Linked DNA regions of Homo sapiens: regions 1 and 3 are each linked to region 2. Evidence: promoter capture Hi-C in 16 types of primary human blood cells and fetal thymus (Javierre and others, 2016). All regions are on one chromosome and are shown on one strand. Each heading gives the region's core, a stretch centred on a gene start or on the middle of the fragment in contact. The rest is flanking DNA. Distances are from core to core; before and after follow the strand shown. Region 1 holds the start of ZNF223 (zinc finger protein 223). Region 2 holds the start of ZNF671 (zinc finger protein 671). Region 3 holds the start of ZNF180 (zinc finger protein 180).

The links. Contacts are between HindIII fragments. The CHiCAGO score rates a contact against its expected background, and 5 or more counts as called.
Region 1: the fragment with the promoter of ZNF223 here is called in contact with the fragment with the promoter of ZNF671 in region 2 in 1 of 17 cell types (naive CD8 T cells); the score reaches 5.9 in naive CD8 T cells.
Region 3: the fragment with the promoter of ZNF180 here is called in contact with the fragment with the promoter of ZNF671 in region 2 in 1 of 17 cell types (total CD4 T cells); the score reaches 13.2 in total CD4 T cells.

What each region holds. Positions count from the first base shown.
Region 1 is chr19:44,050,698-44,053,397 of GRCh38, reverse strand. ZNF223 (zinc finger protein 223) reads right to left here and starts at 1,362. Exons shown (of 5, transcript NM_013361.6): 1 at 1,203-1,362. RefSeq lists enhancers at 1,136-1,375, 1,195-1,696 and a silencer at 1,416-1,475. The HindIII fragment of the contact is 18,414 bases long and covers 1-2,700 here.
Region 2 is chr19:57,726,257-57,728,977 of GRCh38, reverse strand. It overlaps ZNF671 (zinc finger protein 671), which reads left to right and starts at 1,354. Exons shown (of 4, transcript NM_024833.3): 1 at 1,354-1,587. The coding sequence starts at 1,450. RefSeq lists enhancers at 1,008-1,057, 1,198-1,637, 1,155-1,655 and a silencer at 976-1,201. The HindIII fragment of the contact is 7,103 bases long and covers 611-2,721 here.
Region 3 is chr19:44,499,098-44,501,797 of GRCh38, reverse strand. ZNF180 (zinc finger protein 180) reads left to right here and starts at 1,276. Exons shown (of 5, transcript NM_001278509.3): 1 at 1,276-1,523. RefSeq lists enhancers at 821-870, 1,047-1,341, 1,181-1,390, 1,401-1,460, 1,007-1,507 and 2 more. The HindIII fragment of the contact is 10,008 bases long and covers 1-2,700 here.

The DNA.
Region 1 (2,700 bases), core at 113-2,612, about 14 Mb after region 2:
TATTTATGACAGAGTCCTTTGCTCACATGTTTTCCGGCTGACCCTCTCCCCACCATTACCCTATAGTCCTTCCACATCCCCCTCACCAAGATAGTAGAGATAGTGATCAATAAATACTGAGGGAACTCAGAGACCAGTGCCGGTACAGGTCCTCATTTGCTGAGCGCCGGTCCCCTGGGCCCACTTTTCTTCCTCTATACTTTGTGTCTGTGTCTTATTTCTTTTCTCAGTTTCTCATTTCCACCTTGTGAGAAACACCCACAGGTGTGGAGAGGCAGGCCCCCTTCAATATCAAACTCCAAATGAACAACTATGGAAATGTGACAGCTAAAGACAACGCATAAACTGGACTTTGAATAGGTGAAGGGTGGGGCAGAGGACAGTCATAAGGACTTTAAATGAAAAATTTAACAAATTCGTATATGGAACTGCAGATTAGATAACATGATGCTAGGTAATATGCTATCCAACACTATCTAGTAAGTACACTACAAATACTAGTATTCTTTTAACACATCTATCTGACATGTAATCGGTAACAGTATTATTTAACATAATATCCAATATTATCTACCATGTTATGTGAAACCCTATAACCAGCCCTTCCTAAATGCCTCTTACCAAGACACCCCACAATTACCGTGGTATGTGGGCTTCCTTGCTGCAGAAAGCTACCAATCAGCTGTCTCTGGTTACAGGTATGTTCCTGGTGGTATTTGGTTGATGGTCATCAACAAAGCAAACAGGAAAAATGTAAACACTTGGCAAATTTGGGTAAAGGGTATATGAGAATTTCTTATACTGTTTTTGCAATTTTTCTATAGCTTTGAAATGATATCAAACGTTTTAAAATATCAGGCAACAAGAGACCACTCACCAAGTGACAGGGACAACTTTAAGGCTTTCATTTGTATTATCTCTTTCAATTCGCAAAACAATTCTATTAGGATGACCCTATAAGCACCATTTTAAAGAACAGCAATGGGAAGTACAGAGACATTAACATTCCACATCACACTGCGAGAAAGAGTGTACACACTGCATACGTAGGGAGGCGGACTGAGCGAGGTCAAAGTCCTGGAAACCCTCAGAGCAGGGCACACAAGGCCACCCCAATCCCACCCCCCGGGAGGCGAGCAAAGCCCCCCGACGCCAGAAGGCTCCGCTGACGGGAACAATAAACACCCTCCCCGCCCTCGCACCTCTAAACCTCTGCTCTTCGCCAAGGCTTCTTTTCCCCTGAGACGATCATCGATCATCGGGTGGTTGCGAGCCTCAAGCAAAGGGGGTTCGTTCAAAATGTCCTGCAAGACGCAGAAATGGCTCAAACTACCCCGGTCATTAAAGCAGGAACCTCAGACTAGGAGACCGGAAGTGTCCTCTCTGCGCCAGAGTGTCTGGACTCCACTCCCCAGAATTCCCCGGACCCGCCCCCCTGAGCCAAAGGGCCCGGGACTCCGCAGAGTGTCTGGACTATCGTTCCCAGAATTCAACGGTTCACCTGCCAGAGCCAAAATACCCAGTGTTCCACGAGCCAGTGGACTACACTTCCCGTAAAATGGACTACTCTTCCCAGAATTCTCCGGAAACGCCTACCTGAGCTGAAGTATCAGGAATCCCGCAAGGTGTCTGGACTGCAGAGCCTCAGATGCAAAAGGAAAATGTCCATCACCTCACCCTTTAGGCTCAAGTGTTGCGACTACATGGTGCTCCTCGATTACACTTCCCGCAACACCCACGGGGAACGAATTTCATAGCCCCAGGTTCCTGGTGGGGAATGCAGACTGTTACCCTGACAGTTGTCCTTCCCAGAGTCCTCGAGCGAAAATATTGAATAGAAAGAATTTATGAAGTCTAAATGTCTCCCATGATTGACAGGAGTGTTCTTGGACAGGGAACAAGCGAGGAGATACAATATTCAAGGAGCTAGATAGAGTGACTGTTGAGCCGTCAGATGGCTGAAAGGAGGCTCAGGGTTTAAAGCAAGGATATCCAACTCCAGGGCCACAGACCTGTACCGGTCCACTGACTGTTAGGAACCGGGCGGCACAGCAGGAAGTGAGCGGCAGGTGAGGGAGCATTATGGCCTGAGCTCCACCTCCTGTGAGATCAGCCCAGCATTACATTCTCATAGGAGCGCGGATCCTATTGTGAACTGTGCGTGCGAAGGATCTAGGTCAGGCGCTCCTTATGAGAATCTAATGGCTGAGGTGGAACAGTTTCATCCCGAAACCATTCCCCAGTCCGTGGAAAAATTGTCTTCCACAAAACCGGTCCATGGTGCTAAAACGGTTGGGGACCACTGGTTTAAAGAATGAGCCAGGTAGAATGGGTTGGGAGGGGCAATGAGAAGCCAGGAAAGCATCAGCCCCTGTAACTGAAAAGTAGATCAGTGGCTTCCCGTTTGCAACGTCCAGTTAACAAGAGGGAGATCTGGTATAAAGAAAGTGATTTATTCTAGAGCTAGCGTAGGGGAAGTAGCACAGGTGTTGTCTTTAAGTGCACGGCTTGGCTTTTAGAGCAGAAAGCAGGCACTTTTAAAAGGTAGGGGAGGAAGAGGGAAGGGGTCTGTGTGCTGGCTTGGTGCCTTATCTATTAGGCAGTTGAGCTGGCTTTTTCATGGGCAGAAATAAGTTGTAACCAGAAGGGAGAGAGTAGCAGGCACGCTTTCAACTGTTGTCTCTTCAGGCAACCTCCTGG
Region 2 (2,721 bases), core at 105-2,604:
TTGAAAAACACCTACTGAGAGCTCGTATGTGTTCCTTGGATGTGTATTTTAACAGTGAATTATCAAGACAGCACAACTTCACTGTTGATTTTTACCATTCTGATATCTTCTTTACAATTGCTCAGCATTTTCAGGAAAAAAGAGTCACATTTTGTTGACAAAGTGTGGTCAAGATCACAACACAACCATATGCTTAACTTCATTCTTTCACTTATACTTTAGTATTCAGGCTCAAACTTTACTGAGATCTTAACTTTGTCCATCTATCACAGATATTTCCTTAGAGCAATTTCTTTCATTATCTTCAAATAACTACGGAATCATTATTAATAGCTGTCAGGATTTTTCCCCCGGGGATAATCTCACCTCCTAACACAGACACCATACTTACAATGACAATGACAGGTTAAATGGTAATTGCACTGTGTTTTGCTGTGATGGAGACATCACTGATTACCCAGGCAGGAAGAGTTTTCTGAAGAAATCTGTCCACTGGTTTCAGGGAGACTCCACATCATCCCTCTTCCTTCTTCCACTCCAAGGCCTTGTTTGGAATATTTTCTCTTCCGTCTCTGACCAAACTGAAGCTCACAAAAGTTACTGTAAAGCTTGAGTGCACACATATTTAAAAAGCAACAAGGTAATAGTTATTAGCTTCTAGCTGTGAGTGTACGCAAAGAGACATTGTGGTGTGGTGTATCTATTTAGTTTTGCAGCTTTGGGGAACATCTGAAATGTCTCAACATTTCTGCGATCGGTGCATACTACACTCCAGGGAATCTAGGTCCAGGCCTTTTAAGAGGACAGAAGTCAGCCGGGCACCATGGCTCACTCCTGTAATCCCAGCACTTTGGGAGGCCGAAGCAGGCAAATCACAAAGTCAGGAGTTCGAGACCAGCCTGGCCAACATGGTGAAATCCCGTACTCTGCTAAAAGTACTAAAATTAGCCTGGCGTGGTGGCGGGCCCCTGTAGTCCCAATTACTTGGGAGGCTGAGGCAGGAGAATCGCTTGAACCCGGGAGGCGGAGGTTGCAGTCAGCCGAGATCGCGCCACTGCACTGCAGCCTGGGAGACAGAGCGAGACTCTGTCTCAAAAAAAAAAAAAAAAAAAAAAAAGAGGACGGAAGTCCTGTCAGCCCTTTGAAACTCGGGTTACTTTTCCCAAACAACTTGGCCCTCCTACTTCGAGTTTTCCCAAGAGCCCAGGCCGAGAATCCCCTGCCTTGAAGGATAGCTCAGTGGGAACCACACTCTACCCACAAACCTATACGTTGCATACCCAATGAGGGCCCAGGAGAGGGGTGTTTCAGTGCCTGCGGGGGGTGCGTGGGCGGGACTTCCGGCTCCTCCTTGTAGCGGACATTTTGTTTCTGTCAGGCTGTCCCTGGCCGGGGTTCTGTAACGCTTGTGTGGGCCGCAGGTGGAGGTGTTGGGAAAGCGCGGAGGAGATGTTGTCCCCAGTGTCCCGAGACGCGTCTGATGCTCTGCAGGGACGGAAGTGCCTGCGTCCCCGATCGAGACGCCTGCCGCTCCCGGCAGCTGTCCGCGCCCACGGTCCTATGGCGGAGCTAACGGACTCCGCGCGGGTGGGTGCTGCGTCCTCCGGGCCCTCAGTCACCCTTTCTCCGACTCCGAATCGTAAAGTGCCTGCAGCCCCTGTGTCCCAGGACAGCGACGCACTCTTGGGGCGGGGTCCTATCTCGGTGTGGGTGGGTGTGGGAGAGTTACGGGCGGAGGGGACGGCGCAGGTAAAGGCTCGGGGGTGCTGCTGACCCCCAAACATTTGGGAGACAGGGTTCTCATCAACACAGAGCAGAGTTTGAGGAACTGTGACTGGAATGGCAGGCTGAGAAGTTGTCGCTTCATTCTGAGGGCGTTGAGATTAACTGAGGGTTTTGAATAGAAGGACGTGATCTTAGCTGGGATTTTAAGTGTCTCGAAATTTGCTCAGGGGAGAACATTAGTTTGGGGTGGGGACTGCGAGGATGGATACGAGGAGACCGGTAAGGAGGCTACTGCAGTGGATTCCAGGAATGCTTTGGTGGTGGATGTACCAAGAGTAATGGCAGGTGAGTGGGTAGAAGTGATCATATTCTGGGTAGGTTTTAAATTTGAAACCAACAGGATTTTCTGCTCCATCATATGCAGCTATGACTGAAAGTAAGGCATGAAAGAGCAAGGTGTTTTTGTTGTTTTTCCATGAACGTTTGGATTTTGGAATGGTGACTTTGAGATGTCTCAGAGTGGAGGCTTCCTCACTTAGGCAACTAGAGAGGAAGGTCTGAAGTTGTGGGGAAGGGGCTGGGCTTAGAATATCTTTGGGGTGAAGGGAGCGGTCTGGAGTAGGTCAAGGCCAGGAGGTCAGATTTAAGTGGGGCAGTCTTAAGTATGTTATTTCATATCTCTGGGGTAAGAGATGAGAAGGCTGGGACTGCAGGGCAGGGAAGAGGGAGTGGGCATTCTTGAGACTCCCCCCAGAAGAGAAGGGTCCTGCCATTTGAAAGGGTTCTTTTCAGTGTTTGCAGGAGGAGAGAGCTGTAGGGTATGAGGAGTTTGGCCTGGGATGGCAACGATGGGTGGTGTGCTATTGCTACTATCTGATTATCTCACCCTCATTTTGTGTGTTTTCTTTTAGTTTTAGTTTATTTATTTTTTTTATTTTTTTTGAGACGAAGTCTCACTCTGTCGCCCAGGGTGGGATGCAGTGGCTTATTGCAACC
Region 3 (2,700 bases), core at 27-2,526, about 13 Mb after region 2:
TCTTTTTTTTTTTTTTAGGTGTTGGGGATGCAGCAGTGATCAACATCGATAAAATGCTTTTCCTTATGGAATTGACATCGTAGTGGTAGGTCGGACAGTAGACCAAATAAATAATTAAAATATATAGTGTGCTAGATAGTGAAAAGTTCTTTAGAGAAAAAAATAAAAGATGAAGGGGGAGGCACAGAGCATGTGGGGAGGGAAGCGTTTGCTTGCAAGTTCACAACGGGTGGTGGGGCAATGCCTCATGAGAAGATGATATTCCCCTAATTACCAGACGGTGAGAGCCAAATGAATCCCTCAGGAGAGGCTGCTAGGGAGTGCAAAGAGCACCTGCAAACGACCAGGGGCTGGAGTCTGCTGGATCTGTTGGAGAATGGGGAAAATGTGCCAAGCAAATGGGCAAGAAATGAGGGCAAAGAGAAAAGGGGACTACGCCTGTAATCCCAGCACTTTGGGAGGCCGAGGGCGGATCACCTGAGGTCAGGAGTTGGAGACTAACCTGGCCAACGTGGTGAAACCCCGTCTCTACTAAAAATACAAAAATTAGCCGGGCGTGGTGGCTGGCGCCTGTAATCCCAGCTATTCAGGAGGCTGAGGCAGGAGAATCGCTTGAATCCGGGAGGTGGAGGTTGCAGTGAGCCGAGATCGCGCTATTGCCCTCCAGCCTGGGCGACAAGAGCGAAATTCCGTCTCAAAACAACAAAACAAAACAAAACAAAAACAGAGAAAAGGGGAGAGGTGGGGGGAACAGATCCTTCAGGCCTTATAGGCAGAGAAAGAACTCAAAATTTAAAAATAAAATGATTATATTTTAGTATTATTAAATGTAAAAACATAGATTCCTGAAGGGTTCGGTAGACGCTCCCTCCACTGTAAAATGGGGATGTCGCAACTGTCTCACAGGTTTCCCCTAGGACTAGAGGAGACAAGGGGTCGCGCGCAGCGTCTGACAGGCAGGGGGCACCCAGAAAGGGTCCCCGCCATTTCTATTGGATTCTGACGTCACGCCAGAGCGACTCCCCATGCGTCGCTGCACTGGCCTCGGCCTCCCGGCGCCGCGGCTGGTCTTAGTGCTCCCCCTAGACCTGCACATGCACAGGTGTGGCGCCCCCCCGGGCCCCGGACGAGGACGCCCTCTTAGCTTCTGGCCCGGTCCCCCGCCCCACTTCCTTGGAGAAGCCGGAACCCCGCCTACTGACCGTCCGCGCCGCGGAGGCTTCTGGGAATTGTAGTTCTGGCTCTCCGAGCCCAAGTGCACTTCCGGGTTCGGCCACAAGAGCAGCCATTGTCCCGCGCGCGGACGCTTGCTGTCGCCGAGCAGCTCGGCCCTTCAGACTTAACCCCCAGCGGCCTTGCGGATGCTGACTAGGAGAGGGGACCGAACTAGCTTAACCCGAGTCGGCCGTGTTGCAGAATCGGGGCAGGGGGTTGCCTAACCCGAGTTCGTCCTGCCGCAGAGCCGTGCTAGGCACTGAGGCGGTGACAGGCCCAGCCTGGGCTGCGGGCCAGCGGACGCCCAGGTTGGTAGGGGCGTGGGGCAGCGCTTGGTGTCCGATGCGCGCATGCGCAGGGTCTACGCGGGAAGCTGGAAGCGGTGGTGAGTGTAGCGGGGAGACCTGGTATCTGTGCGGGTGGCGCTTTAGCCTCGGGTCACCGGGGTTGATGGAGTTACTGATACAGCTGTATATTCCGCGACTGTCCTCTGCGTGCATGCGCGGGTGCTTGGTCAGGTGGTGCTCTTGTCTGGGGCCTGAGGATGCCCAGGTTGCTGGAACACAGGGCACATGCATTGATGTAAGGGGACATCTTGAGAACTCCCCTCCTCCAATGCCGGGCTTATTTAGTGGAGGCCTGAGGATGTCCGGGTTGATGGAGTGCTCCATTGCAGATTGTGGTTTCTGGAGAGGAGGGGCTGTGCCACTGTCCCTTTACTCTTGATCAGGTATTTGGGTAGGAAGCAAAAGGTTGTAGGTAAGATTCCGAGCAGGTGGCTCTGGGCCCCTAGAGCAGACAACGCGCTTCTCCAAGGTCTGGGGGCGCTGTGGTTGGTGGAGAGACCAGATTGGAGTTGCAGATTCTTGTGCCAGAAGAGGCAGTGTTGCTAGTGAACCCTTGGTGGGAATTACCCATGGGCAGCAAACTCCCAGGCTGAAGGAGGGTATCAGGGCCTAGAAACAGGTTCTGGGCAGAGGGCCCCCTGCACGTCCTGGGGGTGTCTGAATGGAAAACAGAAACTTGAACTGATAGTAGGGACCTATGTAGGATAGTGCAGAGCTCTAGAGCATTCAAGATGGGCAGAGACTCCGGGTTGGAGATACAGAATTTAAGTCCAGGAAGGACAGAGCTGCAACAGCTGCCATCAAATTGGTAGCTGGGGAGGAAGCAGTATGTTGCCAGCATCGTTATGAAGCAGGTGTTGCTGAGACCTTTACTTGGGTACGCTATTTGCAGGCGTGAGAATGTGCAGGTTAGTAGAGGGACAGAGCCTGTGCTGCAGATTTGGTCCCGGGAAGAGCTGACTGCACAACACCCAGGCCGTCATGATTGGGCAAGAGAAGGACAAAGGGCCCAGTTCCCATTGAGCTGCTGTATCGTAGGCTCGAGAACCCCCACGCTGGCGAGTGCCCAAGTCCTGGGGCTGATTATGGAGCTGTATGCTCAAGCTACTGTTTAGTTGTTGTAGTGTCCTGGCTGCGG